Regions from separate parts of the Homo sapiens genome. Here regions 2, 3 and 4 are each linked to region 1. Evidence: promoter capture Hi-C in 16 types of primary human blood cells and fetal thymus (Javierre and others, 2016). All regions are on one chromosome and are shown on one strand. The core of a region is centred on a gene start or on the middle of the fragment in contact, and the rest is flanking DNA. Distances in the headings are between cores, read along the strand shown. Region 1 holds the start of BMERB1 (bMERB domain containing 1). Region 2 has its middle 16 kb from the start of PDXDC1. Region 3 overlaps MYH11 (myosin heavy chain 11). Region 4 overlaps MYH11 (myosin heavy chain 11).

What was found. The method cuts DNA at HindIII sites, captures the fragments that hold promoters and counts their contacts. A CHiCAGO score of 5 or more calls a contact.
Region 2: a contact is called between a fragment that was not itself captured here and the fragment with the promoter of BMERB1 in region 1, in 1 of 17 cell types (M1 macrophages). The highest score is 6.8, in M1 macrophages.
Region 3: a fragment that was not itself captured here is called in contact with the fragment with the promoter of BMERB1 in region 1 in 2 of 17 cell types (neutrophils and M2 macrophages); the score reaches 6.9 in neutrophils.
Region 4: a fragment that was not itself captured here is called in contact with the fragment with the promoter of BMERB1 in region 1 in 2 of 17 cell types (neutrophils and M0 macrophages); the score reaches 6.2 in neutrophils.

Annotation. Positions count from the first base shown.
Region 1 is chr16:15,433,062-15,436,404 of GRCh38, reverse strand. It overlaps BMERB1 (bMERB domain containing 1), which reads right to left and starts at 1,817. Exons shown (of 6, transcript NM_033201.3): 1 at 1,646-1,817. The coding sequence starts at 1,751. The region is part of intron 1 of MPV17L-BMERB1 (MPV17L-BMERB1 readthrough); the gene reads right to left. RefSeq lists an enhancer at 891-1,513. The HindIII fragment of the contact is 15,111 bases long and covers 1-3,343 here.
Region 2 is chr16:14,957,124-14,960,466 of GRCh38, reverse strand. No RefSeq gene overlaps it. Among named protein-coding and RNA genes, the nearest start is that of PDXDC1, 16 kb to the left of the region's middle. The HindIII fragment of the contact is 1,982 bases long and covers 1,103-3,084 here.
Region 3 is chr16:15,749,668-15,753,010 of GRCh38, reverse strand. It overlaps MYH11 (myosin heavy chain 11), which reads left to right. Exons shown (of 41, transcript NM_002474.3): 16 at 2,680-2,873. Among named protein-coding and RNA genes, the nearest start is that of NDE1, 100 kb to the right of the region's middle. The HindIII fragment of the contact is 3,541 bases long and covers 1-3,343 here.
Region 4 is chr16:15,731,008-15,734,350 of GRCh38, reverse strand. It overlaps MYH11 (myosin heavy chain 11), which reads left to right. Exons shown (of 41, transcript NM_002474.3): 27 at 1,643-1,787. Among named protein-coding and RNA genes, the nearest start is that of NDE1, 82 kb to the right of the region's middle. The HindIII fragment of the contact is 3,974 bases long and covers 1-3,343 here.

The sequences.
Region 1 (3,343 bases), core at 568-3,067:
CACCTGTAATCTCAGCTACTCTGGAGGCTGAGGCAGGAGAATCGCTTGAACCCAGGAAGTGGAGGTCGCAGTGAGCCGAGATTGTGTCATTGCACTCCAGTCTGGGCAACAAGAGCGAAACTCCGTCTCAAAAAAAAAAAAAAAAAAGCTAAACTAAAAGAGTATAATTAGTCACACAGCTGGGCTTTTTTAAAAAAGGAGTGTAATTGGATTGTTTGTAACACAAAAAAAAGGATAAATGCTTGAGGTTTTGGATACCCCGTTTACCCTGATGTGATTATTACACATTGTATGCCTGTATCAAAATATCTCATGTATTCCATAAATATGGACACCCACTATGTGCACTTAAAAATTAAAGAAAGAAACAGAGACCCTCAGCCCTGACGCCCTGATATTATGCCAAAGCACCAAGTCATTGGGTCTTGAAAGGATGAACTAGAAAGAAAGACCAAGGTTAAAAAGGGAGAAAAAAAAAGAAAAGGAAAGAGGTTGGCAGTGCTATGACATCCATCCTAGCCCATGAACCACTAAGACATTGGATTGTGATTTCAACTTCAACCCGTCAGAATCAGAACACAGTTGAGCCCTTCTAGGAAGATTTTCTAAATCCATAATTACAGGTATAGAGAAAGAAAGCGCGCACACACAATTTTCCACCAGGTGAGGACAGAATAAGATCACATTCACAATACTTTAGCCCTACATCGCTCAGAGATCCGTGCTGGGGCAGAGCGCGGAGCAGTGACCCAGAGCCGAGGCAGGAAGCTGCCGGGTCCCTGAGAAGGACCTCTCCTTCCCAGCCTGGTGGGCAAGCCATGTGAGAGCAGCGGCTTTGGGGAGCCCCCGGGTTTGCAGGGACCTCCAGTGACCCTGGAGCCCCTGACGCTGCCTCTACACTTTGAGGGCAGGAGTTTCAACTATTGTATCCTATTAATGAAAAACAAAATCCTTCGTTTACTTAGAAATGTTGACATCCAAACACCGCAGAGAGAACCAGTAAATAAATACAGCCGGTCTATTTCGAAACTGCCTTCTAGAGTTGTGCCCAAGCAGACTTTAACTGAGTCAAGAGAGAAAAGAGAACGGTGTGTGCCTTTTGACCCTTTTGCCGCCCCAAGCCTCCCACCCCGACCCAAGGAAGGCGAGGGAGGAAAAGCTGGGAATTTCAGGTGCGCTCCGAAACCTCACGCAGGGGGTAGGAAAGCAAGCGGAAAACCAGCAGACACTCCCCCCTCTCCAGGGACGTGGGCGCTTTCCAGGACGGTCCCGCGTCTCCAGCGCCCTGGCGCATCCCAGGCGGAGAGAGGATCCTCCTCCCTGGGCTGTGGGAGAGACCCGACTTCACAGGACCAGCTGCGAGCTGACGGATCCGGGACTCCTAAGTCGAGCCCAGGCTCCTGCCTTAGCTGCCTGGCCATCTCCCAACCCTCCCAGTGAGGCTCAGCCCGGAGGGTCCCCCCCTTTTGTTCGCGGGGAGAGCGCGTCGCTGCGCAGAGCTGCGTATCCCCCTGAGCTGCCAGCCCCGCTGCGGGGGCGCTTCCCTGGGTCCACTGCTGGCGTTCCTCGCGCTCCCGCGACCACCCGCGCAGGCGCATGGATCCCCAGCTGTCCCCGGCCCCCCGCCCCCCGCCCCAGTACTCACTTCTCCCCAGTCTCTCCGTTTTCCAAGCCGTCTCCTCCACCGCCCCATAGCGCCTCAGAGGCTTCTCGGCTTCCAGATGGGTGGACAAAGATTGCTTTAATTCCATCGCTGATCCCCGTGGCCAGGTCGACGGGTCTCCCTTTACTCCATTCCCGTTGCGGGCTGCAGGGAGGGAGGTGGCTCCAGCCAGCAGCGTTTTAACGGGCCGGGCGCCCGTGACGCTGCTCCCTCTCCTCCGCCGCCGCCAGCGCCCGGGAGCGCCTACGGGTACCCAGAAGGGGCAGGGATGCACGGCACATGCGCAGTGGAGGCTTGGAGGGGAGGCTTGGGGGCTGGGTAGGGAGACAGAGGGGCAGGTGATAACTCTAAGAAAAACAACAAACAAAACAACTAAAATAAAAGCAACACAAAGGAAGTGAGAACAAGGCCCCTGCCTATTCTAGAGCCCCTAGTGATGCTTGGCATGGGGCTGGCACTGTGGGCGGCTTGCGAGCTGTAAGCCGGCAGCGGGTTTTGAGTGGGATTGGTGAGCCCGTCTCTACCTGCGGGCGATGCATCCGTCTTTCTGGGGAGCATGCAGAGGCGTGAGTGTGGACCTAGATCTATGGGTTCTGGGCTTGGCTGACTGCTTTTCTGTGAGAATATCTGTCGTGTGCGTCTGTTTAATTTGAAGTGCGACAGTGGATGCCTATGTCAGTTCCATATGTGTTTGCATGCACTTTGGGGAGAGAGAGAGAGAGATGAAAATATTTTGCACACAGGTATAGCAGAGCTGTTTGGAGCATGGGGCTTTACTTTCCAGAAACCCCAGAGGTTTATCTTTAAAAACAAACAAACAAACAAACAAAAAACACCATGGCAGTGCCTGGGCACGATGGCTCATGCCTGTAATCCCAGCACTTTGGGAGGCCGAGGTGGGTGGATCACTTGAGGCCAGGAGTTTGAGACTAGCCTGGCCAACATGGTGAAACCCCATCTTTACTGAAAATACAAAAATTAGCCAGCTGTGATGGCGCAGGCCTGTAATTCCAGCTACTCGGGAGGCTGAGGCAGGAGAATCGCTTGAACCTGGGAGGCAGAGGTTTCAGTCATCCGAGATCATGCCATTGCACTCCAGCCTGGGCAACAAGAGGAAAACTCCGTCTCAAAAAAAGAAAAGAAACGAAAAAAAGAAAATGATATCCCAGTAGGAAACAGGGAAAGAATATGAATAGTCATGTCATGTGGGCAGAGGAGGAAGGCCTAATGTGAGAAGCTGCTCAACCCCCTTAGTAATAAGGAAAATGAAAATGTAAATAAGAATATATCATCCGATAGGCAAAAACTAAAAAATCTAACAATCATGTGTTGTAAAAGATGTGGATTTTTTTTTTGAGACAGAGTCCAAAAATGCTGGGGTTACAGATGTGAGACACCATGCCTGGCATAATTTGAACTTTTATCTAATGCTAGTGGGAGTATAAATTGGTACAACTGTTTTTTTCTCTCTGTCACCCAGGCTGGAGTGCAGTGGCATAGTCTCGGCTCACTGAAACCTCCACCTCCTGGGTTCAAGCTCCTGAGTAGCTGCGACTACAGGCGTGCCACCATGCCCAGCTAATTTTTTGTATTTTTAATGGAGATGTGGTTTCACCATGTTGGCCAGGCTGGTCTCGAACTCCTGAGCTCAAGTGATCTGCCCGCCTTGGTCTCCCAAAG
Region 2 (3,343 bases), core at 844-3,343, 480 kb after region 1:
ATTCAGGTAGCAGGCTTCAGAGTAAATAGACTGTAAATTTCAGAGTGAATAGATTGTAAATGTTTCTTTTCTTTTTTTTCTCTTTTTTTGAGATGTAGTCTCACTCTGTCGCCCAGGCTGGAATGCAGTGACACGATCTCAGATCACCGCAATCTCCACCTCCCGGGCTCAAGCAGTTCTCATGCTCAGCCTCCCAAGTAGCTGGGATTACAGGCACATGCCACCACGCCTGGCTAATTTTTTGTATTTTTAGTAGAGATGGGGTTTCACCATGTTGGCCAGGCTGGTATCAAACTCCTGGCCTCAAGTAATCTACCCCCGTCAGCCTCCCAAAGTGCTGGGATTGTGCCACTGCACTCCAGCCTGGGTGACAGAGCGAGACTCCAACTCAAAAAAAAAAGGATAGAAAAGAAAATCAGGAAGGAGGGAAGATTACATATCATTTCCTTGCCAGCCTCTCTCCATTCTCATTTCAGGTGACAAAGAGGAAGGCAGTTGCTTTAGTTTCCTGCTCTGTGTCTGCACATATGAACAAGTCTCAGAGGCAGATGTTGAAGAAACTTCAGTGCTACATTTTTTGAGGGGTTGGCCTTACTGGTTGATTCATCTGCTTCATTGCAAAACAGTCCTTTTGGTCTTAAACATGTTGCGTGTTGGCCGGGCATGGTGGCTCACGCCTGTAATCCCAGCACTTTGAGAGGCCGAGGCAGGCAGATCTCCTGAGGTTAGGAGTTCTAGACCAGCCTGGCCAACATGGCGAAACCCCATCTCTACTAAAAATACGAAAAAATTTAGCCAGGCGTGGTGGCGCATGCCTGTAATCCCAGCTACTCAGGAGGCTGAGGCAAGAGAATCGCTTGAACCCGGGAGGCAAAGGTTGCAGCAAGCTGAGATCGTGCCACTGCACTCCAGCCTGGGTGACAGAGTGGGACTCCATCTCAAATTAATTAATTAATTAATTAATTAATTGTGCATCGTAGTCTTTTGTCAGTAGAAATTTCAGGATTCGCAGAGAAGTTACATTTTAGACATGGTAGCCCCCTTGGTGGTTCTTATGAAACTGGGATTCATTTAAATGAAATAATAATAGCTACAATAAGCTTTACTGTAGTCATCTTAATATATTTTTAATGTGATCCTTAGTTGTAAACAGAAGCTCAGTTCCCACATCAGTACTTATTCCCTGCTGAAAGAGCGCCGAACAAAACCCTTTTTTCATTCGAACACAGCCCTATGTTCTCCATTCATCTCCCACTGTTTGGGGACATTAACGGGACATGAACGCACTGCCTAATTATTGCTGCAGGGCTCTGAGTCACAGCTTCCACGGATGATGAAGCATCAACGTAATGAAGTAATTTATCTTAGAGCATCTCTTCTTGTTTGAAGACCATGGGAGGCCTTTAGCATTTGCTTGAGTAATAGATTGTCTTTAATTCCTGATTTTTTTTTCTATTGCTTCTAAGAAGAGATAAGTATACAGTAATGCATTGGAAATCATCGAAGCCTTCTAAGTCTTCATTTTTCCTTCTTTCATTTCCCATTAAGTAAATCCATTGAGCTGCTCCACAAAGAACACCATGGATATTAGAGGATATTTGCCTCTAGAGATTGCTACCAATCCCTTGCCTCTCTGGGTTCCTAGGAGAACTGACTTGTGCAGAAGGTGCCCAGTAAATGTCAGTTTCATCCCTTTGGCTTTGCCAGATTTAGCAAAATAATTTTTTTCTTTACGTTTTTTAAATTTTTTAATTTTTTTTTTTTTTTCTGAGACGGAATTTCGCTCTTGTTGCCCAGGCTGGAGTGATCCTCCTGCCTTGGCCTCCAGAGTAGCTGGGACTACAGGTGTGCACCACCATGCTCAGGTAATTAAAACAATTTTTTTTTTTTTTTGTAGATATGGAGGTTGTATCAGTCCGTTCTTGCATTGCTATAAAGAACTCCCTGAGACTGGGTAATTTATAAAGAAAAGAGGTTTAATTGACTCACAGTTCCACAGGCTGTGCAGGAGGCATGGCTGGGAGGCCTCAGGAAACTTTGAATCATGGCGGAAGGCAAAGGGGAAGCACGCACATCTTACATAGCTGGAGCAGGAGGAAGGGAGAGAAGGGGGAAGCGCTACATGCTTTTAAACCAACCAGATCTCATAAGAACTCACTCACTATCAGGAGAACAGCAAGGAGGCACTCTCCCCCCATGATCCAATCACCTCCCACCAGGTCCCTCCCCTAACACTGGGGATTATAATTCGGCATGAGATTTGGGCAGGGACCCAAATCCAAACCATAGCAGGGGGGTCTCACTATTTTGCCCAGACTGGTCTTGAACTCTTGGCCTGACAAGCGATCCTCCCGCCTCAGCTTACCAAAGTGCTGTGATTACAGATATGAGCCACCACATCAAGCTAACATAGGGATCGGCACTCTAGCCTGGGCGACAGAGGAGACTACGTCTCAAAACAATTAATTAATTAATTAAAATAAATAACCCCATACTTTCTGCCTCTGTGGCTTTGCCTGTTCTGGGTATTTCGTGTGAACGGACCCATGCATCTGGTGGTCCGGGCTCATTTCAAACGCTCAGCCCCCATGTCGGCCCATGGCCTCCGGATTGGATGGTGTGAGCTGGGTGTGCGCGGGGTGCTCAATCCCTCCGGAGCATCTGGAGTGGCCACGTGCAGGTGCGGGAGGCGGCGGCGGCGCAGGGGGCAGCTGGAGGCCCGGGAAGCCCGGACGTGGTGTAGGGAGCTGCCGACCATGCTGGCTTCTGATCGCGGGCTCCCAAATTCAAGACAGCCCTGGTGACATAGCAAGAGCCTGTCTCTATAAAAAATTAAAAATCAGCCAGGCATGGTGGTGCATGCCTGTGGTCCCAGCTACTCGTGAGGCTGAGGCGGGAGGATCACTTCAGCCTCGGGGTTTGAGGCTGCAGTGAGCTATGACTGTACCACTGCGTTCCAGCCTAGGTGACAGAGTAAGACTTTGTCTAAAAAAAAGAGAGAGAAAGGGAGATGGGAAGATTTATGCTGCTGACTTTGAAGATGTTGGATGGGGAGCCAAGGAGTGCAGGGAGCATCTAGAAGCTTGGAAGAGGCAAGAAAATGAACTCTCCTTTAGGACCTCCAGGAGGAATGCAGTCCTGCAGACCCATTTTAGACTCTGACACCCCAAATTCTAAGACAAGAAGTTTGTGTTCTTTTAAGCCATTAAATTCGTGGTAATTTGTTACCTCAGCCATGGAAAAATGATACAAGGGGGATATAAGTAAAAAGCAAAGAAGGAGATGTTTTGGTGAGCTGGAAGCCTGCCCAGCTGGGAGAAATCTAACAGAAGTTTACTCCGGA
Region 3 (3,343 bases), core at 513-3,012, 320 kb before region 1:
TCATTAGTAAAACAGGAGATGCAATAATAGTTGCCGTCTCTACTAGAGGTATTATGAGGGTTAAATTAGACCAGTGATGCTCAAACTCAAGCAGGCATCATGACCCCCTGGAAGGCTTTGTTTATTTATTTAGGGACAGAGTCTTGCTTTGTCACCCAGGCTGGAGGGCGGTGGTGCAATCTTGGCTCACTGCAGCCTCCACCTTCTGGGTTCCAGTGATTTTCCTGCCTCAGCCTCCCAAGTAGCTAGCATTACAGGCACACACCACCATACCTGGCTAATTTTTGTATTTTTAGTAGAGACGGGGTTCCCCCATGTTGGCCAGGCTGGTCTCAAACTCCTGACCTCAGGTGATCCGCCCACCTCAGCCTCAAAAAGTGCTGGGATTACAGGTGTGAGCCACTGCACCTGGCCCTCTTTGGAGGGCTTTTTAAAACCCAGATGGCTGGGCCTACCCTAAGATCTAATTCTGCAGGTCTGGGGCCAGGGATGGGGCGGGCCTGAAAACATTCATCCCAGGTGATGCTGCTGGTCTAGGGACCACACTCCGGCTCCCTTTGAGAACCAGTGAATAGATGATCCCTGTGAAGAGCTGCTGGAGTGATGATGAGGGGAGGGGGTTTGCTGTTTGTCCCTGGCCATCAGTGTCCACAGCAGGTTTTATTCTTGGCACAGGGCCCATGGGCCTGGGGCTTACAGGACTGGTCTCCCCTTGTTTTAAGCATGCTAAAAAAAGGGCTCCAGGAGGGGCCAGCTGTGCCCTAACCATATGCCAGGCTCTGGGCCTAGGGAACAACATCGCACCCTGGGTCTGTGTCATCCCAGGACACATGATGAAGCCTGTAGTCCCTCCTCTGCGGGACCCACAGTCTTGTGGGAGAGATGAGACTCTCAAAGACAAGCAGAGAGACAAGCATGAGGCTGCGCATGGTGGCTCACACCTGTAATCTCAGCACTTTGGGAGGCTGAGGCAGGAGGATCAGTTGAGGTCAAGAGTTCGAGACCAGTCTGGCCAACGTGGCGAAACCCCATCTCTACTAAAAATACAAAAACTAACTGGGCGTGGTGGTGGTAATCCCAGCTACTCGGGAGGCTGAGGCAGGAGAACTGCTTGAACCTGGGAGGCGCAGGTTGCAGTGAGCTGAGATTGTGCCATTGGACTCCAGCCTGGGCAAAAGAGCAAGACTCTGTCTTGAAAAAATAAAACTAAAAATAAAAAATAAAAACAAAATTAGCCGGGTGTGCTGGTGGGTGCCTGTAATCCCAGCTACTCAGGAGGCTAAGGCAGGAGAATCACCTGAACCTGGGTGGTGAAGGTTGCAGTGAGCCAAGATCGTGCCACTGCTCTCCAGCTGGGCGACAGAGTGAGAGCTTGTCTCAAAAAAAAAAAAAAAAAAAAAAGATTGTTACACAGAATCTGAGTAGAAGGTGAAGAAATGGTGCCATCCATGGCCTGTGGGTTGGGCTTGGCATGTGCAGGACCTGCTGGGCTGGTAGAAAAAGAACCTTGGAGGTGATGATGATGATGATGATGATGATGATGATGATGGCCGGGCGCGGTAGCTCACGCCTGTAATCCCAGCACATTGGGAGGCCAAGGCAGGGGAATCACCTGAGGTCAGGAGTTCGAGACCAGCCTGACCAACATGGAGAAACTCTGTCTCTACTAAAAATATAAAAAAAATGAGCCGGGCGTGGTGGCGCATGCCTGTAATCCCAGCTACTGGGAGGCTGAGGCGGGAGAATTGCTGGAACCCGGGAGGCGGACGTTGTGGTGAGCCGAGATCACGCCATTGCACTCCAGCCTGGCCAACAAGAGTGAAACTCCGTCTCAATAAAATAAAATAATGATAATAATAATAATAATAATAATAATAATAATAATAATAATACCTACTTTTTGTTGAGCACTTACTGATGTGCCAGGCTATCTCGGAGTGTGTGCTGTATCTTCTGCCTCAGAATATTTCTTCCGTGGATACCTACATGGTTACCCACTCATTTCTTGCTGGTTTCTGCTCAAATATCAACTTAGCAGAGCCCACCACCTCCTTGTCTAAGAGAGCACCCTCTTCACTCTCTCTCCGCTTTACCCTATTTTTATTTTTCTACGCACACCTCACTACTCAAGATATTCCATACTTAACATCTGTGATCTCTGTCTGTCTCCTTCCCTGTGATATAAGCGGGGTGAGGGGGCCGGGTCTTTTTTTGTTCACAGCAGTGTCCCCAGGGCCTGGAGCACAGAAGGTCCTCAATAACTATTTGTTGGTGGATGAAAGATTGGAGGCTGGCAGGGAATAAGTGCCTTCTGTGCCTTATTTTTTTTTACCCCTGCCCTAGAAGGTAGACGGTATTATTACCTCCCTTTTGTAGAAAGGGAGACTGAGGCACAGGATAGTGCCAAGCCAAGGCTAGTCAGTGAGTGGACAGCGAGAGCAGGCTTGACTCCTAGGTCAGCGTGACTCCATCACAGGGAATTTGTTCTTTCTGCCACTCAGGTGCTCTCAGGATTTCCCCAATAGACAATACTTGGAAACCCTGACTGCCGAAGGAGGCGTTGGTGATGGAAGGAAAGATTGGAGTGGGCAGGTTGGTGGGTGGGGCTGGGGCTGAGCCTCTGGCCTATTTAGGGGTGGGTGGGCCAGAGGCTGATGCCACCCTGGCTGTGCCCCATAGTGGACCGCATCGTGGGCCTGGACCAGATGGCCAAGATGACGGAGAGCTCGCTGCCCAGCGCCTCCAAGACCAAGAAGGGCATGTTCCGCACAGTGGGGCAGCTGTACAAGGAGCAGCTGGGCAAGCTGATGACCACGCTACGCAACACCACGCCCAACTTCGTGCGCTGCATCATCCCCAACCACGAGAAGAGGGTGAGGCCCGCCGCCCAGACCCTGGGGCTCCCAGAAGCCAGGGCTGTCCCAAGCGGTCACAGCGTCCCCAGGGCGCCCTCTGCCCCCACCTACCCCGAGGACCCCATTTTCCATGTGGGGAAGGCTATCTGAATCTCAGACCCATTCCCCATCCCTGGAGGAAAAGGAGGAAGGGAGGATGCATCCAGAGACTTTTCAGTTGTGGAGTTGCTGTGCAGGTCATCCAGCCACTCATTCATTCATTATCCCAGGAAGTATTCACTGGGCTCTGCCCTGTCCTGGGTGCTGGGGAGCAGTGTTAGAAAAATTGTAGCCCTTCCCTGTGGGTTTCTCATAATCTGGTGCAGGCATCTTCAGCTTGGGGCGATTGTGTCCTCTATATGGACATGCTACAGACATTTTTGGTTGTCACAACCAGGAGGGGGCTGTTAGTCAGCATCTAGTGGGTAGGGGCCAGGGATGCCCTAAGC
Region 4 (3,343 bases), core at 431-2,930, 300 kb before region 1:
CTCCAGCCTGGGTGACACAGTGAGTGAGACTCCATCTCAAAAAAAAACAAAAAACAAAAAAATCACCCTTAGTCACACCAGTTAACATTCTTGAGAAATTCCTTCCTGTCTGTGTGTGTATCAGTCAGTCCCCAAGCTCCAATTCCCAAGTATGTGTGTGTATCACTTTTGTGTTAAATTTTAAAAATAAAATTGATCAGATTGGTTTTCAATTGAAGATTCACTTCAAATGAACAAACAATAACAAACTGCCTGCCAGATCACGAATCCTGACTCTAGTGAAACTAGGTCATTGATTCATTCAGTAAACACATAAATGTATTTTGATGCAATCTGTGGTGTTGGCATAGCATGTATCATAGCATATAGCTATGCTAGCTGTGCCAACACCATATACCCTGGGGTTTACTTCCCCCACTTTGGGTTTTGTGCAGTGTCACATGCACATAGAGCACAGCGTTCTGCTCCCTTGCCGCTTGGCCTTTGATACAGAAGAGCCCAGTGCATGGGCCAGGTATGGTGGCTCATGCCTGTAATCCCAGCACTTTGGGAGGCTGAAGCAGACAGATCACCTGAGGTCAGGAGTTCGAGACCAGCCTGGCCAACATCATGAAAACCTGTCTCTACTAAAAAGACAAAAATTAGCCGGGCGTGGTGGTGGGCGTCGGTAATCCCAGCTACTTGGGAGACTGAGGCAGGAGAATCCCTTGAACCTGGGAGGCAGAGGTTGCAGTGAGCTGACATCATTCCACTGTACTCCAGTCTGGACGACGGAGCAAGACTCGATAAGAAAAACAAACAAACAAAACAAAAAACCAGGCTGAGTGCGGTGGCTCACACCTGTAATCCCAGCACTTTGGGAGGCTGAGGCGGGTGGATCACCTGAGGTCAGGAGTTCGAAACCAGCCTGACCAACATGTTGAAACCCCATCTCTACTAAAAATATAAAATTAGCCGGGCGTGGTGGTGGGCACCTGTAATCCCAGCTACTTAGGAGGCCGAGGCAGGAGAATCGCTTGAACCCGGGAGGTGGAGGTTGCAGGGGGCCAAGATTGCGCTGTCGCACTCCAGCCTGGGCAACAGGAGTGAAACTCCATCTCAAAAACAAACAAACAAAACCATGGACTCAAGGTCAAGGTTTAGCTTCTAATTCTGGCTCCATCACACAATGGCTGTGACACCATGGGTAAAACTGCTTACCCTCTCTTAGCCTTAGTTTCCTCATTTGTAAAATGGAAATAATAACACACCTGCCTCTTTGGGTTGCTCTGAGGATTAGATGATGTATATAAAAAACTTAGCTCAGGGCCTGGCATATAGTAACTGCTCATTAAATAAGAGCCAACATTAATATTTAAGCAAAATTTTGCAGTTCACAGACATCCTTTCAATTCTATTACTTTGTGTATTTGTTTGCCAGTCATTACAGATGTCCTAGGCAGGTGATATGCTCCACATTTTGCAGCTGAGGAAATTTTAGGTCCAGAGATGTTAGGTGAATGACCCAAGGTCACACAGCTAGAGAGGGGTGGTGATGAGGACTGCAGCTCTGGGTCCTGGAAGAGCTCTCATTCTTTTGCACGGCACTGAGATGACCCTCTGTCTCCACCCAACTGCCATTCACTGTGTTCCTCCCACCAAGGGCCAAGAGGGAGCAGGAGGTGACGGTGCTGAAGAAGGCCCTGGATGAAGAGACGCGGTCCCATGAGGCTCAGGTCCAGGAGATGAGGCAGAAACACGCACAGGCGGTGGAGGAGCTCACAGAGCAGCTTGAGCAGTTCAAGAGGGTAATGCTTTTTGGTGATGCTTTTTGGTGATGACACATAAGAGTGACATCAGCAGCCTCAAATTACTACAGGTCAGGGTCTGCATAAAGACAAAAAACAAGTTACATAAGATTCTAATGATGATGATAGCAGCTTATATTTATTTACAAAATGCTTCCCATACAGGCTGGGTGAGGTGGCTCACGCCTGTAATCCCAGTACTTGGGGAGGCTGAGGCGGGAGGATCGCTTGAGCTCAGGAGTTGGAGACCAGCCTGGGCAACATAGTGAGACCTTGTTTCTACTAAAATTTTAAAAAAGTAGGCCAGGCGTGGTGGCTCAAGCCTGTAATCCCAGCACTTTGGGAGGCCAAACTGGGTGGATCACCTGAGGTCAGGAGTTCGAGACCAGCCTGGCCAACATGGCGAAACCCTATCTCTACTACAAATACAAAAAATTAGCCGGGCGCGGTGGTGCATGCCTGTAATCCCAGCTACTCGGGAGGCTGAGGCAGGAGAATCACTTGAACCCAGGAGGCAGAGGTTGCAGTGAGCAGAGATCATGCCATTGCACTCCAGCCTGAGCAACAGAGCAGGATTCCATCTCAAAAAAATAAAATAAAATAAAATATTGGCCAGGCCTGGTAGTGCATTCCTGTGGTCCCAGCTATTTGGGAGGCTGAGGTGGGAGGATCGTTTGAGCCTGGGAGGTTGAGGCTGCAGTGAGCCCTGTCATGCCACTGCACTCTAGCCTGGACGACACAGTGAGACCTTAATCAAACAATAAAAATAGGCTGGGCACGGTGGCTCACCATGTCTGTAATCCCAGCAATTTGGGAGGCAAGGCGGGCAAATCACTTGAGCTCAGGAGTTCGAGACCAGCCTGGCCAACATGGTGAAACCCCATCTCTACCAAAAATATAAAGAATTAGCTGGGTGTGGTGGCATGTGCCTGTAATCTTAGCTACTCGGGAGGCTGAGGCAGGACAATCACTTGGACCCAGGAGGAAGAGGTTGCAGTGAGCTCAGATCGTGCTACTGCACTCCAGTCTGGGCGACAGAGTGAGCCGCCATCTCAAAAAAAGAAAAAAAAAAAAGAATGAATAGAAATGCTTCTCATACAGTATGTCAATTAATCTTCACAACCACCCTGTGAGACGTGTACTATTAAACTCATTTTACAAGCAAAGAAACTGAGGTCCTAGGTGCCTAGAGGTGAAGAGACTTACCCAAGGTCACACTGCTGGTAAGTGACAGAGCCATGATTTGCACCCAAACAGTCTGGTCCTAGACCCCACTTTCTGGCCTCTACAGGACTGAAGGCCTATAGGATGGGTGGGGCCTATCAATATACTGCCCTTCAGGGATAAGCAAAGGTGTAACAACACTTTCGGGGAGATTTAAATGAAACTTAAAACTGGGATCATTCTATCCACTTTAATTTCTCTGCAGACTGGAGGAAGGCCAGGCATGGCGGCTCATGCCTCCCGTAATCCTAACACTTTGGGAGGCCAAGGAGGGAGGATTGCTTGAGCCCAGGACTTTCAGATCGCCTGGGCAACATAGCGATTTTTCTTTT